2 separate regions of the Homo sapiens genome follow, and region 1 is linked to region 2. The links are contacts of gene promoters, found by promoter capture Hi-C in blood cells and fetal thymus (Javierre and others, 2016). All regions are on one chromosome and are shown on one strand. Each heading gives the region's core, a stretch centred on a gene start or on the middle of the fragment in contact. The rest is flanking DNA. Distances are from core to core; before and after follow the strand shown.

Region 1 (4,878 bases), core at 1,225-3,724, 3.0 Mb after region 2:
AACTAGCTTCTGAGTAGAAACAAGGAAGCTACCCTGAGATATAGTCAGCTGCCCACCTGCCATAGTATTTGCTACTGAATGCCAGCCTTTTAACATACCATTTCAGATTTGTCCTTCAACAAAAATATAAATTGCAAGTCATACCATTTAAGGGTCTTTTACAAATATGTCTAAATTGTGTGTCATTTTTAAGTTCCAAAGGTCTACTGGACTAAGTACTATCAGACCAGCTGTAGAACCTGATGGCGCTGATCCGGGGTGGAATAACCCTCAGTACTGGTGTGTAGAAGATGAATTGTAGGCAGGTTTTGCTGATCAGCAGCCTAAGGATTGATGGGCTCTCTTTTGGCCTCTGATCCTGAGCACTATGGAGGCAGCATCAGAGAATGGGGACCTGAGCTACATAGGTTCTCAATGTTAAAACAACTCTGTTCGGAGTGACATATAAGAGCAAGAAATCTACAGCTGGTGTAAAATACCTTTGCCTTTTCTATCCCGAAAGTAACAAATGGCATCTGTACATGTAGGGGTAAAAACTCAGATGTCTACTCCTCCAGGCCATGGACAAGAAAAAGTACAGCAGTCAGAACAGTGGAACAAGTGATTTGCATTCTCTTCTTCACGCTTTCCTAGATCTGCCATTGGTAGCGCAGCCCTCGCCCTCCAGACATAATGCATCGAGCCCAGTTGCAGGGAACATCACTGTGTGTGTGTGATGTCATGGTGTTATATGTGTTGAGTTTAATGTTGAGCTGAAGCAAGTTGGTGACCTTCCTCTTTGCTCTTTGTAAAGAAGACACCAATGTTTGTCAGAGAAAAATCCCCAGCAGTCGTGTTGAAGAGGCAGTGTCATCCACCTACTGTCCCCTTTGGAACAGTTCAACTGCAGAAAGGTCGGATTGAGGTTTTGTGCTTTGTCGTTTTTCTTTTTTAAACAAAACATGACAACCTTGGCTTTTCCGATATGGAACACTTTTGTTGTTGTGGAGTTCCCTCTTGCTGTATCTTCTATGCAATTCCTTTTCTAAAAAAACCCCCCGGCAGAGGCAGAGTGCCCTCCGGATATCTGTCCGGCGCCTTGCTGAGTGGTGGAGGTGAGGGATACCAGCTCCGGGTGTGCCTCTTTTCTCTCCCTGGCTGCCAATCCTGATTTTCCCTGCAGTCCCCTTGGTTTGTAAATTGCCTGCATTTATTCTGTCAGCCAACATGTACAAAATGTAAGAAAGAATTTTTAAACAGGTAATAAATTATATTTATAAGCAACAAAGTGCTGCCTCCTTCACTTAATAACAAGGTTCTCTTGCGTGTTCAGAGCTGCCACGTGTTTCTTCGGTGGGACAGAAAGGCTTTGGGTCCTGCGTGGATGGTGATCACAACCTCCTGCAGGCACAGGATGAGGTTTTAGCATGGTGCTACTAAAAAATCAGCTGCACACTGGAATCACCAGAGAGGCCTTAAGAACTAACGCCAGGGTCACACCTCCAGAGATTCTGATGGAAGTGGTCTGGGGGTAGCCTGGGTCTTGGGTGTTAAAAGCTCCCGGGTGGTACTAATGAGCGGTTAAGGGTGAGAACCAATGTCTTAGAACTTCTGCAGAATTCTCTGGGGCGGGAGCTTCTAAATAGAGTGTCAAGCCCTGCCCCCAGAGATCTGATTTTAAATGAAGCTTGCAAACAACTATACTAATAGGTAGGAAATGAAAGGTAAGCAACTACCAGCAGAGGAGTTCAGCTTGGTACAGGACTGCTGGCCACTGCCTTAGGGCGAGCAAGCCAAGGGCTCCAGCTGTGAGGTGCGAAGCAGCTGTGAGGCTGAAGACTAGAATCAAAGACAGCCCTGTCCTCCATGAGAGAACGACCTGGAGACACTTCCTTAGATGGACTGCCACCTGCCCCCACCCCTCCCCTCAGCCTCCGTGGCTGAAGGGTGTAAGCAATTGCCCAGCACTGAGAAGCTGGTCCATGCCATGGGCTGGAAGAAAGTGACTTAAAACAATCCATGCTGGGATCATGAATTCAAATGTTTCTCCAAGGCTAAGGAAGTAATGGAAATATATAAACTGGAACCTGGGTAAAATCAAAGGGAGATGTAAGGGCTGCAGCTGAGCCAGAGAACTCAAATTCCATATAAAACAATGAAAATACAATGAAAACAATAAAACACAAACAAAAACTGTACTTTACATAGAAAACCCATGGTGGCAAAGGCTCAGCCCTGTTACCAGACCACTAACCCCTAATTAGAAGCTTTGGTAGCTGAGATTCCTGCTGAGAAGGCCTTACCTAGGATGGCATGCAAGCATTTTCAAAGACTTCACTGAGGGCCCAACCTAAGCCCCTGTCTCTCAGTGGAGGTCCCTGGAGAGTTCTGAAGCTTGGCCTCCCTCTGCTCCTGTCTCTCAGTACCAGCATACAGGTGCCAAGCAAAGAACCTTCAGCAGCCCCAGAGATCCCCACAGCTAAGCTCAGATCAGAACCTAGGGTAGAAATTAGAAATTACTTTGCAGAGACAAAACTTCTGAGAGTGCAGTCATCTGTACTTTGCTGCTGTGACCAGATGGAGACAACAAGCTTGCAACTTACAAAATGACCAATGCCAACAAAATAACCTTTTTTCCTCAGCTGAGATTTACTGTCAGTATGCCTGTGAGTTCTGCGAAAAGTTTAACTTGAGCCCATGACACACAGAAGTGGGGTGTACAGAAGGTGGGAGAGATGTACCAATAGCAAATCTCAGCTGGTTTTAAATGTTGCTAATTGTAGATCCTGCTAAACTAATGGCAGGAAGAAAAAGCAGCATTGGCCAGGCACAGTGGCTCACGCCTGTAATCCCAGGACTTTGGAAGGCTAAGATGGGGAGATCACTTGAGCCCTGGAGTTTGGGACCAGCCTAGGAAACATAGTGAGGACTTGTCCCTACTAAACATAAAATTAGCCAGCCATGGTGGTGCATGCTTGTAGTCCCAGCTACTTGGGAGGCTGAGATGGGAGTCACTTGAGCCCAGGAGATCGAGGCTGCAGTGAGCTATGATCATGCCACTGCACTCCAGCCTGGGCAAGACAGAGTGAGACCTTGTCAAAAAAAAAAAAGAAAGAAAGAAAGAAAAAAAGAAAAAGAAGAAAGAAAGAAAGAAGGGAAGGGAAGGGAGGGAGGGAAGGAGGGAGGAAGGGAGGGAGGAAGGAGGGAGGAAGGGAGGGAGGGAAGGAAGGAAGGAGGGAGGGAAGGAAGGAAGGGAGGGAGGGAGGGAGGGAGGGAGGGAGGGAAAGAAAGAAAAGAAAAGAAAAGAAAGAAAGAAAAAAAAGAAAACAGAGGAAGGAAAGAAAGAAAAGAAAGAAAGGGGAAAGAGCAGTATTTCTGAGCACCTGTGATGTACCTGGCATGGGCCCTCACATAATTCAGACACTCATCTTATTGGTTCCTCACAAGAGCGCGAAGAGGTGGGAATTTACAGGTGGGAAGACTGGGCTCAGATTATGTACTTCCAAAGAATGAAAAAAGTGGAAAATGGTGGAATTTAAGCAGGTCAGTCTGAATTCCAGCATCAGGATGCACTCTTTTGACACAAGTGCAGCTGGCTAACCACCACCAATCTCACGCAAACTCTTCATTCTCTCTGCGTCAGACGCAAACCTTCCTGCACTCTCCACTCCCCAGACAATTTTGGGCTTCCCTGGTCCTGATCCAATCTCCAATGGATCCCCTCACAAACCAAACTTCTCATTCTGCCCTCCAGGGTCCACAATGCTTGGAACAATAGCCCTAACACATTCCCTCCCCTTTCGCAGAGGTGACAATTCAGGGGCAGCAGCAACAGCCTCCTCCTTCCACATCTCAAATACTCCACAGCTGGGAGGCAGGTGGGGTCTTTCTCATACAAAACTGCTGATTCCAGATTATTGCATTAAAAACTCAATGCTTTGCATGTCAGGCCTCCCGGCTCAGCTGGCCAGCCCCTCTCTCTGCCTCTCACTGCCTGCGTCCCTTCCCATTCTCCTGTGGCACTGGAGAATTTTGCCTCACAACCTTCCTCTCCCAAGACTGCCACCTTCAAAATCCACGAAGACAACAAATCTAAAGGCCAGGATTTGGGTTCCTCTTTCATCACCAACAATGTTGCCTATGAATTAAATTCACCCCCTCCTGCGATCACACTCTCAGCTGCTCCCCCTCTGAAATCTGACCACAGCCTCTCTCTCAGTAACTGTGGAGATACCACCTCCGCCCCCGCCCCATCAGGATTCCCTGTCCTGGGACCTGGGTTTTTGTTTTGTTTTGTTTTGTTTTTTGTTTTTTTTTTTTTGGTCTGTTAGCTCCTCTAATTAATTCCTTCCCTCCTCTGGTCCATCAGCCCCTTGATAGTAATAATTCTTACCTTCCATGACCTGTTGCTGCGTTTGCATGATAAACCAGTACCCTGAATGAATCCTATCTTCGTTGTCTCTATACCTGTATTTGGGTTGCTGACAAAAAGATAAAAAAAATCATAAACCACAAGAAAAGTGGCACTATGAATTTCTGTTAATACTATAGTTGAGCACTTACCACATGCTTGGTGCATGGATTATGTCATTTCATCTTCAGAACAACTCCAGATAGTGGATATTAACATCATTCTCATCTTCAAGGGGAAGAAACATCTTCAAGGGGAAGAAACTGACCACAGCCCCTCTCTCAGTAACTGCGGAGATACCACCTCCGCCCCATCAGGATTCCCTGTCCTGGGACCTGGGTTTTTTGTTCGTTTGTTTGTTTGTTTGTTGGTCTGTTAGCTCCTCTAATTAATTCCTTCCCTCCTCTGGCCCATCAGCCCCTTGATAGTAATAATTCTTACTTTCCATGACCTGTTGCTGCATTTGCATGATAAAGAGGTCAAAATGT
Region 2 (5,630 bases), core at 1,243-3,742:
TGTGCCATATTGGTGTGCTGCACCCATTAACTCGTCATTTACTTTAGGTATATCTCCTAATGCTATCCCTCCCCCCTTCCCCCACCCCACGACAGGCCCCGGTGTGTGATGTTCCCCCTCCTGTGTCCAAGTGTTCTCATAAACAATTTTCTTTTAAGACAGGGTCTTGCTTTGTCTTCCAGGCTGGAGTGCGGTGGTACCATCATAGCTTGCTGTAATCTCAAATTCCTACTTGGCTAATTTTTAATTAAAAAAAAATTTTTGTGTGTGTGCAGGTGGAATCTCCCTATGTTGCCCAGGCTGGTCTTGAACTTCTGGCCTCAAGCAATCCTCCTGCCTGGGCCCCCCAAAGTGCTAGGATTAAGGATTACAGGTGTGAACCACTGCACCTGGCCTCATAGAAACTTTTAAAAGAAAGATTTTTTTTTGTTAAGAATGCAGAATTTTGAGAGACCAATTACCAAATTATGAAGAGTATATAGGTTGCACTTCAGTGTGTAATATTTAGGTAGGATCTGGCCAGAAGACCCACAAACACTGGGGTCCTGCCATTGATCAGCTACCCATCTCTGTGAAGTCCTTGAGGAAAAAGCATTCACTCAGGAGGCAGGCAAGGTAAATAAACAGTGTTTTCCTAGCTGGTACTCAGAAACTCTCCCATAGAGGTCTGCAAATGAGCTAGGAAGGGTGCTATGAAGAACTCCCTTTGTCTAAATTAGGTTACATTCAATGGCTGAAAATCAAATCAGACAGAAAGCATATAAAGCCAGCTTTACCATTTCCATTTCCAATCTCCAAAAATATGTATATTCAAGCAAAGAGTAATGTAGACTACTGCAGACAGAATGGCCAGACAGGGCTTGAAATTCTGCATCAATGCTTACGGCAACCATGGCCTAGACCTGAGTATGCAGTTTGGGTTGATATCCTTGTTTGGATCATCAAGGTCAAATGATGTCCTTAAGGACATAGCGGGCAAATTTACAAGCACCACTGGATTATCATACACAGCACATGAATTTTTCTCTTTCATCTCTGTGACTCTTTCTAATATGTCATAGTAAATATCTAGATCTTCTGAATGGGTATAGGTGGCAGCTTGGAAAATAAGGTTAAAACAACATTGAGAGAATTATGAGGGTTTCTGACAGAATGCAGGGAGAATCGAAGTTGGTGAGATGTTTCCAAAATATTGCAATATTCATTTTCCTACCATTAAAAAAAATCTTTGCCACCTCTCGTTTTGGATTATACGTCTCTTTCCCCATTAGAGAGAGAACACCTGAGGGCAGGGACTTTCTTATGCCTTTGTATCCTCATAACTTAGCAGGGATGGAACCTACAGTATATGCCAATTCGTGTTTTTTAAGTGCATAAATAATTTAGCTAGCTATTGAACAGAAAAAAAGGTACTACAGATACATCCTTGAGAAGCATATAGCCTCGCAAGGAGAGGGTTCCGACCTATATGGCACAATGAAGCCACAGTAAATGTTGCACAGGATTGAGTGGCAAATCGTGTATTACAGAGTATGAAAACTATAAAAACTTGTAGTAGGAACAAATTAACGTACTGTAGACCATTTGGAGGTGAGGTATGATCAAGGTAGGATTTGTCTAAGCCTCTGAGGATATTTATAATCTGGACAGAATTCTTGCTAGAAAAAACAGCCTGCGAGATGCAGAGGTGGATTCTGACATAGATTCCTTAAGCCCCAAGGACAAGCAAGGTTTCTTTTGCCCAAGGTTCAGAATCATTGGTTTGGTGGGGTGGACTGGGCTTTTTCAGTGCCTTCGCTTTGCTTTTTAAATATTGATGAATCAGTATTGTGGTTACCTGGCATACGACAAAAGAGGCAGCTTTCAGTCACTTCCACGGCTTCAGTTGGTGAGCTTTTCGCCTCCTTGCCTGGTGTCCTCATTTCTTTTTTTTTTTTTTTCTTTTTTACCCTTATCTTATTTGTTATTTTTTTTTCTGGGTTCTCCATTTCTTGTCACTGCCCTGAGCCCTGGGTTTGTCTTAGCAGTTTGGACTATCTACAGGTTAAGATCAGAGGTGCCTTTTCTCTGTGAGTACGAGTGGGGCTGCAGTAGAAGCGGGGGAGAGCTTGCGGAACCCCAAGCTCTCTGCTTCATGCTACTGCATTTTTCTTTACTAGGTTCTGTTGAGTCGGGAAGCAGATCAAGGTCAAGTTAGTCCTCACCCTTCCTAACGCGTTTTCTAAGGTTCTTCTGCATACTTAAAAAAGTTCGGGACCTAAGTAGTTACCGGGACCCCAAGAGCTACGAGGTTTAGGCCTGCCTTCTTCAAGGCGCGCCGGGTTCCGGGTAAAAAGAGCCGGGAAAGGGTGGCTGCTCGGTGCGCATGCTCCGAGGGCTCGGCCCAGGAAGGCACCTCCACTTCGCTCCCTAGAGACTGGGCCCGCCTCCTCCCCAGAGACTGGGCCCGCCTCCTCCCCAGGCTTCCGGGCGGAGAGAAGTGGGCGGAGTCAGGGCCGGAAGCACCGGGGCGAGCGTCTAATCCCTAATACCCAATTTTGGTGGCGTGCACCTGGCAAACTGATGATTGTGTGGGACGTCTAATCTCTAGTCGCTCACCCCTCTACTTTACCACAGAGCTAGAAATCGATTTGAGGAAATCTGGTATCAATGAGCGGGCGGGGAGACAACCCCACCCCTAATTTCCCTGTTTACGGAAGTTCTTTCCCGGCCTCCTCAGACTGGTGTCGGCTTCCTTTTTCTCCACACTTCTAGCTACCTTGTTTTTATCGTTTTCGGCACCTGCCCTTCCCCAGCGCCCCCACCACCCCGAGCACTATGTATGATCGGGCTCCCCGCCTGCTCAAATTGGCTGAAGGTGGCAGCACTGAGGCCCATGTGGGTCCTGGATCCTACCAGGTACCTTTCCTGAAGCAGCAGGCGACAGGTAAGATGTAGGAAGAGGCAGAGCTCCTGTGACAGGCATCCTATCTTCAGCCTGCTCCGCTTCTGCGTGCTTGTGAGTTAAACATAGAGCGGAATAGTACCATTTTGTAAACATAACAAAACATGAAGTAGGCAGGGAAAACACTATACTTTTATTTTACAGATGAGACTGATAGTATCACTTGTCCCATTTCAAAAGGCTGGTGAGCATATGGCTAGGACTTTTGATTCCGCAATAGTTGTCTACATCCTACTTTTGATTGTGCAGTTTAGGTCTAGGATTTTGATTTCCTGGCTGTGTTGACATAATATATGAGTCTCCAAATCCTGTGCCCTTACCTCCCGCTGTCTCGTTGCTTTGTAATCCTGCCTGCCTCACATCTTTCCTCCCATTAACCAGAGACATTTATTTATTAAGATGTAGCTTATATTTCTATTTTGCAGTATTATTTAAAGATAGTTCCGTTTTTTTTTCAGACAGATTTTTCTGACCGTCCTCATCTCTTTTAACACACTTCAGGGGAGCCCCTTTTCTCCACATTCTGTAAAGAAAAATTATATTTTTGACCAGTGGAGTGGGGATGGATAATTTAAATAATATTTGCTCTCCTCGTTTGTTTGCAGTTAGTGACTTAGTCAAAAATAAATACATCAATTTTGCTTTCTACTTTTTCTATTCTGGTGATTTTCTGGAGCTTAATACCGTCCAAATGATAGTTTTTCTTAACCTACATTTTCCCCATACCTACACTATGTATTTTCAAGCAAATGCCAGGATCCATTATTCTGTTACATAACTGATCAGATAAGGGAAGGTTTAGGTTTCTTGGGGTGGAGTACAAATTTGACTTCTGTCAGTGTTTCACATGTTGAATTGTACTGCTTCACAGTATCTGGTATCACTATTCTTGCAGCTTATTCTATCTTTATTTTAATGGAGTTGGGCATTATAAGCATTAATTCCCCTAACAATGGCTAACAATGACCCCCTGTGACACTTTGCAATCCTTAATTTTGACATAACTGACCACTTTATTCTTGGAAACACTTCTTTCCAAAATGTAACATCATTTCCTCCTGTTTTTTTTTTTTTTTTTTTTCCCAACTACTGTCTTGGAAGAGTGTCTGGGAACATGATTGGGACCTAATAAACATTTGTTAAATGCCGAATCAGGGCATCATCTTCTCCCCCTCTCCAAGCAGTCCTTCATGGCCTTCTTTAAATGTTTTTATGTTTCTTGTTGATGAAAAGAGTCAAACTCTGTAAAATATTTTAAGAGATTTATTCCGAGCCAAATATGAGTGACCATGGCCTGTGACACAGCCCTCAGGAGGTCCTGAGAACATGTGCCCAAGGTGGTTGGGGTACAGCTTGGCTTTATGTATTTCAGGGAGGCATGAGTTATTAATCAAGTACACTTAATAAATACATTGGCTTTGTTCAGAAAGGCGGGACAACTCAAAGTGGGGGCTTCCAGGCTATAGGTAAATTTAAACATTTTCTGGTTGACAATTGGTTGAGTCTATCTGAAGACTGGCATCAAAAGAAATGTTCAGGTTAAGATACAGGATTGTGGAGACCAAGTTTTGTTGTGCAGAGGAAACTCTCAGATAGCAGACTTCAGAGAGAGGGAGCAGGTTGTAAAATGCTTCTTATCAGACCTAAAAGAGTGCCTGGCTCTTAGTTGATTATCTCCTGCATCTGGAAAGGAAGGAAAACGAAGGGGAAAGGGTATTCTCTATAGAGTGTTGATTTTTCCCACAAGAGACTTTGCAGGGCAATTTCAAGGTATGGCAAGGAAATATATTTTTAGGTAAAACATTTTGATTTTTTTTCCTTGTCTCATAATGTTATGCCAGAGTCAGATTGGAAAGTAAGCCACTATATATAGGATTAAATAAAATCCATCTGATAAGAATGTATAGTTTGTAGGGCGTGACTCCCTAGACCCCTTAGATAGGAATTTGGGCAAAATAAAAAAAATCAGAGCTTAGTCCTCATTTGACACATCTTTAAATGTTTATGTACTGTACTTCCAATCCTTTGCTTGTTACTTTTCTCGTGTGTACTTTCTCATTTGCTATCCATATTCTGATTCTGATGACTCCCAGAAGGAAATCTTAAGAGATACAGGTGATTTATGTCTCTAAGGTGAGCTTTCTCCTAATCTTTCGGCTTTCAACACTGCCAATCACTTTTGTTTGTTTTTCTCTTCTTTTTAATTCTTTTTTTGTTGCTGTTGATGTCCTTGAGTCATAACCAGTTACTTTTTTGAACATCTCTACCTAGATGGTCTCCGGTATCTGAAGTTTTAAGTGTCTGAGCTCATAATTTTTTCCAGCAATACTGGTCCCTTTTAAAATTTTTTTCCAGCAATACTGGTCCCTTTTTAAAAATTCCCTATTAGTCTATAATAAACTTTAAGTTTTGGAATTATTCTAGACTCTTTTCTCCCTGACTACTCCTGTTGATCATTAACACCTAATGATTCTATCTTCTCAGTGCCTGTTTGATTAGTTCCTCTTTTCCATTTAGCTGTCCTTGACTTAGTTCAAGCTCTCATTATTTCTATTTTGAATTAAACATATAAAATATTACTTGTTTTTCCTTATTTCAGTCTTCAATCCATCTTCTATCTTGTGGCAAGAGTGATCTTTCTAAGATATATTACATTATTTGTGAAAAAAAAATCCTTTGTAATATC

The links. Contacts are between HindIII fragments. The CHiCAGO score rates a contact against its expected background, and 5 or more counts as called.
Region 1: a fragment that was not itself captured here is called in contact with the fragment with the promoter of STPG2 in region 2 in 1 of 17 cell types (fetal thymus); the score reaches 5.8 in fetal thymus.

What each region holds. Positions count from the first base shown.
Region 1 is chr4:95,158,893-95,163,770 of GRCh38, reverse strand. It overlaps UNC5C (unc-5 netrin receptor C), which reads left to right. Exons shown (of 16, transcript NM_003728.4): 16 at 1-1,267. Among named protein-coding and RNA genes, the nearest start is that of UNC5C, 390 kb to the left of the region's middle. The HindIII fragment of the contact is 197 bases long and covers 2,376-2,572 here.
Region 2 is chr4:98,140,338-98,145,967 of GRCh38, reverse strand. It overlaps STPG2 (sperm tail PG-rich repeat containing 2), which reads left to right and starts at 2,492. Exons shown (of 11, transcript NM_174952.3): 1 at 2,492-2,926. The coding sequence starts at 2,818. RefSeq lists an enhancer at 2,666-2,765. The HindIII fragment of the contact is 14,460 bases long and covers 1-5,630 here.